Linked DNA regions of Homo sapiens: regions 1, 3 and 4 are each linked to region 2. The links are contacts of gene promoters, found by promoter capture Hi-C in blood cells and fetal thymus (Javierre and others, 2016). All regions are on one chromosome and are shown on one strand. The core of a region is centred on a gene start or on the middle of the fragment in contact, and the rest is flanking DNA. Distances in the headings are between cores, read along the strand shown.

What was found. Contacts are between HindIII fragments. The CHiCAGO score rates a contact against its expected background, and 5 or more counts as called.
Region 1: a contact is called between a fragment that was not itself captured here and the fragment with the promoter of ALDH5A1 in region 2, in 3 of 17 cell types (fetal thymus, naive CD4 T cells and naive CD8 T cells). The highest score is 7.6, in fetal thymus.
Region 3: a fragment that was not itself captured here is called in contact with the fragment with the promoter of ALDH5A1 in region 2 in 2 of 17 cell types (naive B cells and erythroblasts); the score reaches 6.3 in naive B cells.
Region 4: a contact is called between a fragment that was not itself captured here and the fragment with the promoter of ALDH5A1 in region 2, in 1 of 17 cell types (naive B cells). The highest score is 5.3, in naive B cells.

The regions. Positions count from the first base shown.
Region 1 is chr6:24,724,078-24,726,777 of GRCh38, forward strand. No RefSeq gene overlaps it. Among named protein-coding and RNA genes, the nearest start is that of C6orf62, 6.3 kb to the left of the region's middle. The HindIII fragment of the contact is 4,468 bases long and covers 1-2,700 here.
Region 2 is chr6:24,493,551-24,496,250 of GRCh38, forward strand. ALDH5A1 (aldehyde dehydrogenase 5 family member A1) reads left to right here and starts at 1,419. Exons shown (of 10, transcript NM_001080.3): 1 at 1,419-1,800. The coding sequence starts at 1,447. It also overlaps a transcript of GPLD1 not described here. RefSeq lists a silencer at 1,425-1,814. The HindIII fragment of the contact is 3,166 bases long and covers 428-2,700 here.
Region 3 is chr6:24,672,725-24,675,424 of GRCh38, forward strand. The region is part of intron 1 of ACOT13 (acyl-CoA thioesterase 13); the gene reads left to right. It overlaps LOC124901279 (a long non-coding RNA gene), which reads right to left. Exons shown (of 2, transcript XR_007059509.1): 1 at 1-2,700. Among named protein-coding and RNA genes, the nearest start is that of ACOT13, 7.0 kb to the left of the region's middle. The HindIII fragment of the contact is 425 bases long and covers 1,213-1,637 here.
Region 4 is chr6:24,742,640-24,745,339 of GRCh38, forward strand. All of the region lies in intron 1 of LINC02828 (long intergenic non-protein coding RNA 2828), which reads left to right. Among named protein-coding and RNA genes, the nearest start is that of LINC02828, 1.7 kb to the left of the region's middle. RefSeq lists an enhancer at 886-975. The HindIII fragment of the contact is 1,353 bases long and covers 689-2,041 here.

The DNA of each region.
Region 1 (2,700 bases), core at 105-2,604, 230 kb after region 2:
GTTGTTTTATCTAATACACCATTGAAGAATTTTTTCACTACTATAATAATCCTGAAAAAAACAGTATGGAGCAGATGTTGAGGAAAAAATGAAGTTTTTAGTTTCAGCTACTGTGAAACAGAATTGGAGACACCTGGTCACAGCTGAGCACATCCTATGAAACTGTGTTATGGGACTGTGCTAGGTCTTAATGAGATGAGCCAAGAAATAGCAGCAATGTCCCCTGGAGGACGAAAACACTGCTAGCTCAATTTTCTCTGTAACTTGAAAGGGCTATAAAATAAGAAGGTAGTCGAAGGAATTAAAATTTTTAAAAGCCGTGACCAAACGTTTCTCAATGAAATTCAGATAAAAGTCAGAGAGCATTCACTTAAGATTTAGCTTCTTTAACTGTGGAGAAATGCATTTCATTGTGTTAGAAATGGCTTACTTAGGGTTAGGCTGCTTCAAACACAATAGGATTTGTGGAGTGATGATTTGATGGTGGCACCTTGGCTAAAAATATCTGCTTAACTTCCCTTTTGGAGTTTTAAATTATACCACTAGATACATTGAAATTTCCCTGGTTGAAATGCAGATATCACTGCAAAGGTTACATTTTAATGAAATAACACCTTATAGAGATTCTGTGCGAGCCTCCTTTCTGAAGAAACACAATGCAGGCCAGCTTGGGCGGGCTCCTGTGTTAACTTCCAATCTTTAAAGAAGGACAACCTCGGATAATCCCAGTCTCTGACATTTATAGCAAGTTAGGAAATGATTTCTCAAACCTGTGCTTGTGTAGCCTAAATAAATGACAATAAGATAAACAATAAAGTATTTAACAATTGGCCTTCACTTTTCTAAAAAGAGCCAGCCTTTTCTTTTACCTTTAAAACATACATTGTCTGTACACACATGCTCTTCTTTTACAGAAATCTAGTTTTCTCAACATGCTCAAGCATATTAGACTTCTCAGGGTTCTCAAACATCTTGTCCCTTCATTAGTGCTATGAAATTTGTCAGACATGGGCCTTGAATTTTGGCCATATTTATGATTAACAGTTCAATAAGCATGATAAACGTCTACAGCAGAACAAGTTTATGGTTAGACTCTACAGGTCTTGAGAACAAGTTCTATTGCTCTACAGTTTGATCCTGAAAGCAGCCACACCAAGGATCTTGTCTCCAGATTTCAACTCTACAGATTTATCATCTAAGATAATTATGATATTATGTGTTAATAAAATTTCATAATCCAATGGGGATTTTCACAATATGTACTCTAGCACATACAGACCTCGCATCTACAGCAGAGCTGCATGGTTATGAAACCAAAAGGGTATTAAGAGGAGAAACTATGTTTGTTTTGAGAGCTATTCTTACCCTTTTTAGGAGGATCAGGGGATAGCTTGGTAGTTTCTTCTTTAGTCTCACCCTTATTTCATGTTAGCCCAAACTATAGAGGTCAGTGCTTATTTGCAGGCTGATCGTTGAATATTTATTGAAGGCCTAAAACAAGTTGTAGGCTTGAAAAATGAGATTTGAGCCGGGTGCAGTGTCTCTAGCCTGTAATCCCAGCACTTTGGGAGACTGAGGCGGGTGGATCACCTGAGGTCAGGCATTCCAGACCAGCCTGGACAACATGGTGAAACCCTGCCTCTTTTAAAAATACAAAATTAGCCAGGTGTGATGGTGGACTCCTGTAATCCCAGCTACTCGGGGGCCTGAGGCAGGAGAATCTCTTGAACCCAGGAGGCGGAGGTTGCAGTGAGCCGAGATCGAGCCATTGCCCTCCAGCCTGGGCAACAAGAGCAAAACTCCGTCTCAAAATAAAAAAAAAGAAAGAAAAAGAAAAAAGAAAAATAAGATTTGGCCAGGTAGCAGCCATTGTCCTGGAGCTTGGGACAGGGTTAAGAACCAGAGGCATTTTCAAGTGAGTACGTCTATCCCACCATGTATTTTCTTTATTTATTAACTTCTTCTTTCCCCTGTTCCTTTTTTTTCTCTCGCCTGCCTTTCTTTTTTTCTTTTCCACTTCTCATGCTTTATGCCCACCAGCATTATCAGAAAATACTAATTAGACACCTTTTGTTTACACTTTGGGTTAAAGCTATACAGATTGCTGTCCAAACAAATCTGCTGGTACCATTTAATAAGGAATATTTTTTACCCATTATCTTTGCCTGTTAGTCTCAATTTGTTATCAAACACACTTCTATTTAGTTTTCCTTAACCCCGGGCTCTCACTGACTTTTGCTTCTTGACTACTTCCTAATTTCATTTCAAATATTTTTCTAGATTCCAGATGTCACTCCCACAATTCAAAATGCTCTTACTATTCCATTTAACGTGTCTAGGAAGGTTATAGTAGATAAATTGAAAAAGCAACCTTCTGACACTTTTGTTAGAACTCCATCATCATCCTTAGAAAGAAAATGTTAAAATATTATAGAGTTCGTGCCACTCTTCTTACCCTATTCCCACATACAAAGAAGGCAAATTTGAGCAATTAACATATGAAGGAAAGTTTAAATGTTTTAGAATTTTTTTCCTCCCTTCCCAGAACACATTCCATTCTCTATTCCACAAAGATTAGGTGTTGGAAAGGAATGGGAAAGATATATACATGTATAACAATTTTTTCCACAGGTAAGGTAATTCCACTTATCTAAAATCATGTAAGTATACTATAATTATGGACGTCCATTAATTCTTTGT
Region 2 (2,700 bases), core at 169-2,668:
CAGGCAGGAGATGTAAACACGCCAGCTCCCCAGCCCCACCTGTGATACCTACTGGCCCACATCCCTATTAGGACTCCCTGGTTCTCCCCAGTTCCTGCAATAAAATACAGAGCAAAATAGTGTGAAATTGATTAAACTCTACTGTTATCACTTCTGCCATATGTGACTGGCTCAAAACTCAATGGATCTGACTCAGCAAAAGACAAAGTCAAAATTTAAAGTTACTGCCTCGGCATTTTGCAAATGTCCTAGAAAAAAATTCAACGTCCTAGAAAAAGGTGAAAGCTAGCAAGATACTCTCAACGCTGTAGGAGTTGAGAAAGGGAGATATGTAACCTAAAATCAATGCATAGGGCTGGGCTTCATTTGCACCCACAAATTCCCAGCATACGCCTGCTATTTTTATTTTTATCCTCATTAGGTTTTAAGCTTCCCTGCTGCTTTCAGAGTCTTAAGCCCAAGTCTAATTTTTTAACGGATGAAGAATGCTGTTTAAAGGTGCTCAAATACCTTGGTTGGATAGTATGCTCAATCCTTATACCTTGGTTGATTCAATTTTGACAAATGCTTCCATTTACTAGTTGGTGACCCAACTTTAATCTTACTAGTGGCTTGACTAGGGTAGCTAGTATGACTTTGAACGCTATATTGAATTTAATGTGGCAACTGTAATGAGCATTTTACGTTATCTCACAACAAAATGGGGTAGATATGGTTCTATTTTATAAGTGACTGGACTAAGGTTAACCTGTCGGTCACACAGCTTGTCGGCAACAGACTTGAGTTTGGATCCTAGTCTGTTTATTTCCAAAGCGCTGTTATTTATCGGGAGCAACCCTAGGAGAATGCCTAGACACACACCCAAAAAAGCAGCCAGGCAGCAGAACGCGGGGTCACACTTCGACCCCTCAGAGAACGATCGCTCCCAATCAATACTACGTGCTCAGGAGCTACAACTGAAGAAGCGTGATCACGGCCTTGGCATTTAGGGCAGGCACCAGCGCATCTATGGACCGCGCACAAATTCCGGGGATGCCGAATTTGGGGGATGCTAAGGGGAGAGAGTGGGTCTCTAGCAGCGATTGGGGGCTCAGGAGCAGTTAGTGACAAATGAGCACCCGAAAAGTGAAAAGGTGACAGCAGTCCGCAGGTGCATCTACTGGCGAGCCTTCTCCATCCCCGAACCCAACCCTCCCCCGGGAGAAGGTCGCGCCAGGAGAGAAGCCGCGCGGCGCTTAGGGCAAGGTGCAGAGGGCGGCGCGGCGGTGCAGCGAGAAAGACGCGGAGAGAGGGCGCTGCTCTGTGGCTCTGCAACCTTCCGCCAGCTCCCACGCTTTCCCCGCGCGTCCCCGGCGCCTCCTCGCTCCTCTTGCTTCCCCGCGACCCCTGCGTTCCCGTGCGCGCGCGCCCGCTTGCCTGTTTCCTGTCGCCGTCGTTGCCCGGGCCATGGCGACCTGCATTTGGCTGCGGAGCTGTGGGGCCCGGCGCCTCGGGTCGACGTTTCCAGGCTGCCGCCTCCGCCCCCGCGCCGGCGGCCTGGTCCCTGCCTCCGGGCCTGCGCCCGGCCCGGCCCAGCTCCGCTGCTACGCTGGGCGCCTGGCGGGCCTCTCTGCGGCGCTGCTGCGCACCGACAGCTTCGTGGGCGGCCGCTGGCTCCCGGCCGCCGCCACCTTCCCCGTGCAAGACCCGGCCAGCGGCGCCGCTCTGGGCATGGTAGCCGACTGCGGGGTGCGAGAGGCCCGCGCCGCCGTGCGCGCTGCCTACGAGGCTTTCTGCCGCTGGAGGGAGGTCTCCGCCAAGGTGAGAGAGCCCGGATGCAGGGGGCCAGAGCTGGCCGGGGACACGGCGGGGAGCAGAGGGGGCTTTACCCCAAAGTGACACCAGCCGCGTCGCCTCCCTCCTGTGCTCAGTTCCCCAGGGTATACAAAGTGGAAAGTCAGAGCAACAAGGGAGACGACCGACAAATAAGTTTGGAGCTTCCACTTTGAGCCGGGCACTAGGGACACGACCCCTGCCCTCAAGCCTCATCAAGTTATGCACTGCCCAGTAGGGGAGGCAGAACGTGAGCGCCTAATACAAGCGAGCTGCTTGTTATGGTCAACAAGCCTAACCGTGGAGGGGCGGGGAGAAAGGGGAGGGGTGTCAGGGAAGTGAGAGCACGTGTGGCCCTTCAGAGTAGCTGAAATATCTCCGCAGCTGCAGGGAGCCCACGCAGGAGGCTGCTTCAGCGGCCCTTGAGAAGGCTGGTAGTGAGGGCCCCTGGCCAGAATCATGGGATCGGAAACGGAGAGAACTGTAGAAAGATTTGGGTTTTGTGCAGGGGAAGAGAGAAATCCAGGAGCGTTCTCCAGGTTTTCACCCTAAATGGATAAATGCTGCTATTGGCCATTGCATAGAGAACACTGGAGAATTGGGAGTAAGGGGTGGAGGGCCATTAAATGGGAAGAATAGAGTAAGAAGAAAACTAAGAAAGTAGTTTCTTCCTTCTAATATTATATTATTAAACCTGGAGTCAACGCAGTGAAATTTTTTACCGTGTCCTTCAAAGCTCTCCCTCTGAAGGAATGCATCCAGCGATCCCTACGAGTACAAGAGAGTCTTAGCACTCATTCATCCATCAGCTGTTTACTGAGCACCTGCTGTATGCCCTGCACTGTTGGAGGTGCTTGGGATACCTCAGTTAAACGAAAGAAGGATTCT
Region 3 (2,700 bases), core at 175-2,674, 180 kb after region 2:
TTGTTAATCTGATTACAGGGGCCCATAAGCTGATCTTGCATCATTGTGCCTTTGACGTTAATCATTAATTTATAGAGAAACTGAACTTATTTTATCTTTCAAATTTGGACCTTACAGTCTTACCTGCCCACCTCTTCTTCGATAGTCTCTGGGCCTTGAGGAGTTGAATGCCTTTAATTTCTGGCCGTGTATCTCAGGAATGCAGTTTATTTTGATTGGCGTCTTCTACGGGGCCTGAAGATGACAGCTTCAATTGCTGTCAGTGTTTAAGATTTAGTAGGACTTGGTGTCCTTTTTAGACCCAGGAGTCAAAGCCCTGTAACCTAAGGTCACAAGGACTTTAAAAGCACATACAGGAAAATACCCAGTTGTAATCATGTTAATTAAAAAATCTTTTTTTAATCTCAGTTTTTTCCTAAACATAGGAATTATTTCAACAAAATGTAAACTCTGTTAGGTCAGTTACCAAAAAGCAAAAGAAAAGACCTTCTGCAATGCACAGAACATGATGTTGGAAGAAAACACTTCCTTTAGACCTTTAAGACAGTGTGCCTTTTTAAAGGGGAGAGAAAGCTGAAAAAAAATGGCAAGATGCAATAAAAATTGAACTTTCAGTTTTAAAAAAAAATTAAATTCTCTTATAATTTTTTTTTTGAAATAGAGTCTCGCACTGTTGCCCAGTTTGGAGTGCACTGGTGCAATCTTGGCTCACTGCAGCCTCTGCCTCTTGGGTTCAAGCAATTCTTGTGCCTCAGCCTGCCAAGTAGCTGGGACTACAGGCACATGCCACCAGGCCTGGCTAATTTTTGTATTTTTGTTAGAGACGAGGTGTCACTACGTTGGCCGGGCTAGTCTACAACTCCTGACCTCAAGTGATCCACCTGTCTTGGCCTCCCAAAGTGCTGGGATTACAGGCAGAAGCCACCATTCGTAGGCAAATTCTCTTATAATTTATTAAGAGTAAGTTAACCCCTTAAGAAAAGTTTATTTTTCTAACCAATAATTTCGTGTATATGTGTCTTTTTTAACATGAAGCCCAGTCTCTAGAAAGAGCATTATAATTTCCTTTTAATTGTAAACATGATCATATACAATTTTTTTAAAACAAATCCTCTTATTGTGACATACACAGACCATTCATGACATGCTTGAACTTTTATCTTAGGACTAAATTTACCATACAGTATTCTTTCTCATGTAAAATTATTTCTAAGCTTTCTTACCACATACAAAAAAAATTTGTTTTATAACTTCCTTTACAACATCTCTCTTATTTCCTGATTCCTTTACCTTGTTGTATACATAACCTTTAAATAAGTTTTGTGGGGTTTTTTTTGTTTGTTTGTTTTTTATCTGAGACAGAGTCTTGCTCTGGCACCCAGGCTGGAAGGCAATGGCCCGATCTTGGCTCACTGCAACCTCCACCTCCTGGGTTCAAGTGATTCTCCTGCCTCAGCCTCTCGAGTCGCTGGGATTACACGTGCACCACAATGCCCAACTAATTTTATATTTATAGTAGGGACAGGGTTTCACCATGTTGATCAAGCTGGTCTTGAACTGACTTCAAGTGATCTGCATGCCACGGCCTCCCAAAGTGCTGGGATTGCAGGCATGAGCCGCTGCCCCTGGCCTAAATAAGCTTTGAATTAGACAAAACTTGTTCACCGTTTTTGGGGGGTTTTGTTTGTTTTTTTGTTTTTTTGAGATAGAGTCTCATTCTGTCACCCAGGCTGGAGTGCAGTTGCGTGATTTCAGCTGAGTGCAGCGTCTGCTTCCTGTGTTCAAGTTATTCTCCTGCGTCAGCCTCCTGAGTAGGTGGGATTACAGGCGCCTGCCACCACGCCTGGCTAATTTTCATTTTTTGTATATTTAGTAGAGACAGGGTTTCACCATGTTGGCCAAGCTAGTCTCAAACTCCTGACCTCAAGTGATCTGACTGCCTTGGCCTCCCAAAATGCTGGGATTACAGGCATGAGTCAGTGCACCCAGCCCTAGAGTTCAACTGTTTTTTTATTTTCTTATTATACTTTAAGTTCTAGGGTACATGTGTGCAACGTGCAGGTTTGTTACATATGTATACATGTGCCATGTTGGTGTGCTGCACCCATTAACTCATCATTTACATTAGGTATATCTCCTAATGCTATCCCTCCCCCCTCCCCCCACCCCACGACAGGCCCCGGTGTGTGATGTTCCCCACCCTGTGTCCAAGTGTTCTCATTGTTCAGTTCCCATCTATGAGTGAGAACATGTGGTGTTTGGTTTTCTTTCCTTGAAATAGTTTGCTGAGAATGATGGTTTCCAGCTTCATCCGTGTCCCTACAAAGGACATGAACTCATCCTTTTTTATGGCTGCATAGTATTCCATGGTATATATGTGCCACATTTTCTTATTCCAGTCTATCATTCATGGACATTTGTGTTGGTTCCAAGTCTTTGCTATGGTGAATAGTGCTGCAGTAAACATACATGTGCATGTGTCTTTACAGCAGCATGATTTATAATCCTTTGGGTATATACCCAGTAATGGGATGGCTGGGTCAAATGGTATTTCTAGGTGTAGATCCTTGAGGAATTGCCAGTGTCTTCTACAATGGTTGAACTAGTTTACAGTCCCACCAACAGTGTAAAAGTGTTCCTATTTCTCCACATCCTGTCCAGCACCTGTTGTTTCCTGACTTTTTAATGATCACCATTCTA
Region 4 (2,700 bases), core at 115-2,614, 250 kb after region 2:
GAAGGTAAATGGGGAAGGAACCAATGAAGTGGGAGAATAAAGGAAGACCAAGTAGAAGTGAAGTCCTCTGAAGGTTTGCCTAGGATGGTTGGGAACACCTTAGATGAATTTATTTTAGAAAGGAGGGGGATAAGACTCCCAGAGAGGGAGGAGGCAAGGTGGAGAGATGGCGTACCAATACACAGAAGTAGAAATTAGAATAATTGTAGGAGCTTGAGACTTGGTAGTGGCATACACAAGAAATTCATTGAATGTGAAGTAAGGGAATGGAAGGAAAGCTTGAGGAGAGAAAGAAAACCCATTGGTAAGATTATGAATTTCATACAGGCAAAAATTCATAAGAATTTCATACGAATTCGGTAAAAGATACCAAGCAATAGTAATACTTATTCACTAACAAAAGCTCAAGCATCTGTAAAACAAAAGAAATAACAAAGAACTAAAGACAATCTGGGCCGTTTACGAAATCCATGTGTGTGACCTTAAAGAAGCTCTTTCCCGAATCATTTTCTGTTGTTGCATTGCTGTTTCCAGAGTTCTGGAATTCTATGCCACAAGCTGAACATTAAGGTCATTGATATCATCTGAAGCCAGGAAGAGTCTCTGCTAGGAAGACTTTTAGCACAAAATCAACTATTCTCTGCTCCAAGTAAAATGTCTAAACTGTCTGCAAAGGCAAATGGCTAAAAGCTTTGACAGGAATACTTCGTTAAGTGAGATTAGTCATGACCTCTTAGTAATATAAGCCTGAAGAAAGAAATGAAAGTTGGAAGTAAAGATATGAGTCATGCTGCAACTTGGTAGCTGGCATTCATTCAGGAGCTCAACAATGTCAGCAGATCTTAGGCTCCTTCCTTCTGCTCTGCCAGTCCTTATTCTTGTTAACTCATAAATTCAAAATGGCTGCCACAGCTCCCAACATCACAGTTCAAAGGCAGAAAACAGGGTAGTCAGGGTAAAAGTCTTTATCCTTCTGGGGCTACTCTTATCAGGCGAAAGATTACCTTTCCCAGTAGCCCTGTAGTAGACTTCCCCTCAAATCTCTTTGCCATATAACTGACTACTCTTAGATGTAAGGAAGGCTGACAGAAGGACACAGAATGGCTATGACTGGCTTAGCTAATAATGACTCATCTGCTAGGGCTGGGTACATTCCCCAGACAAAATAAGGCAGTGGGGCAGGAGCAGGGAAATGGCTGTTGAGTAAGCAACAGTGTCTGTCACAGTGAATTTAGCCCATATACATATAAGTTTGGTCTTAATTCTGTATCAAATTTTGTATGATATTTTCTGGGTTTTTGTTGTTGTTGTTACTTTTTGAACACTTCTCTACTGGACTGTATTTTCTTTGTGTTTGCATGTGTGTGTTTCCTAATAGTTTATAGGGAAATAAATTTTTGTTCTAGTGGTTACCTTATAACTACAAGTTTATATAATAAACCTAATCCTCTTTCTTCAAGCAAAACCAGTTGACTCCATACTATGAACACTGACAAAATTAGCACACTATCACTTCCCTTTTTCTGCTGTTCTTAGTATTTATCTTCGCTTTTTTTTTTTTTTTTTTTTTTGTAGAGACATGGTTTCACCATGTTGGCCAGGCTGGTCTTGAACTCCTGGCCTCAAGTGATCCACCCACTTAGGCCTCCCAAAGTGCTAGGATTATAGGCGTGAACCACCACGCCTGGCCTTTATCTTTGCGTTTCTAAATATACTTATTCTATTAGGTTGGTGCAAAAGTAATTGCGGTTTTTGCCACGTACTTGATTTATCATCTTTAGATGATTTATTTCCATCCCTGGCTATTAAAATAATGAAATCAGCACAACTTAAACTACCTCCCTCTCTTCGTCACCTTTTCTCTCCCCACTATTGTTCGTTTTATACTTTCTTGATAGCAGGCGAGAATTAGAAAGAATGTAGGTGCTTGGTACTTTTACTGACATATAAGGGAGATTTTCTTGCTTAGGAGGATGGAAAGGAGATGGCTTTCACTTTGATAATGGAACCAAACGTATGGCCTGGTCATGAAGGAAGGACAAGCTTCTAACCCAAGGTTATTTTCATGAGATATGAAAGGAAAAATATCAGCTCCAGGTGTGCTGGCACAGAGTCCCAGCTACTCAGGAGGCTGGGGCAAGAGGATCATTTGAGCCCAGGAGTTTGAGTCCAGCTTGGGCAACATAGCAAGACCTATCTCTAAATAAATCAATAAATAAAGTATTCAGTACTATGTGGAACTGAATTTTGAGGAAAGTCTAGTAGGGGAGAGATATGTAGCTTTTCTTCAGCATCCAACACAGGATTTAAATCTGTGGAGAAGGTGGAGTTACCTCAGGTTTTTTATTTCCTTCTGAATGTCATAAGTAGATTTGGACCTAAGGCTGTCCAATTCCAGAGAGCAGTATAAAATGGGGAAATCACTTTTGCCCTAAGATTAGACTGCAGCTTTGGTTTCACCCTGCTTGTTCATGCAGTTCCTGCAGACGTTGACCTTCTAGACTGTCTGCCTAGACCACACAGGCCTCGTGTCTCCTATTCCTCAGCTCACTTCTTAAAATGGAACTTCCCTTCTCCCACATCTTATAGGACCTGCGTCACCTCTTTAATTGTATATTAATGAGCTCTTCTGGTACTCGACGTCTTACCTTTCTATTAGTGTCCACCAGCCTCCTGATTAGCCACACTCCTAGTCTAGTC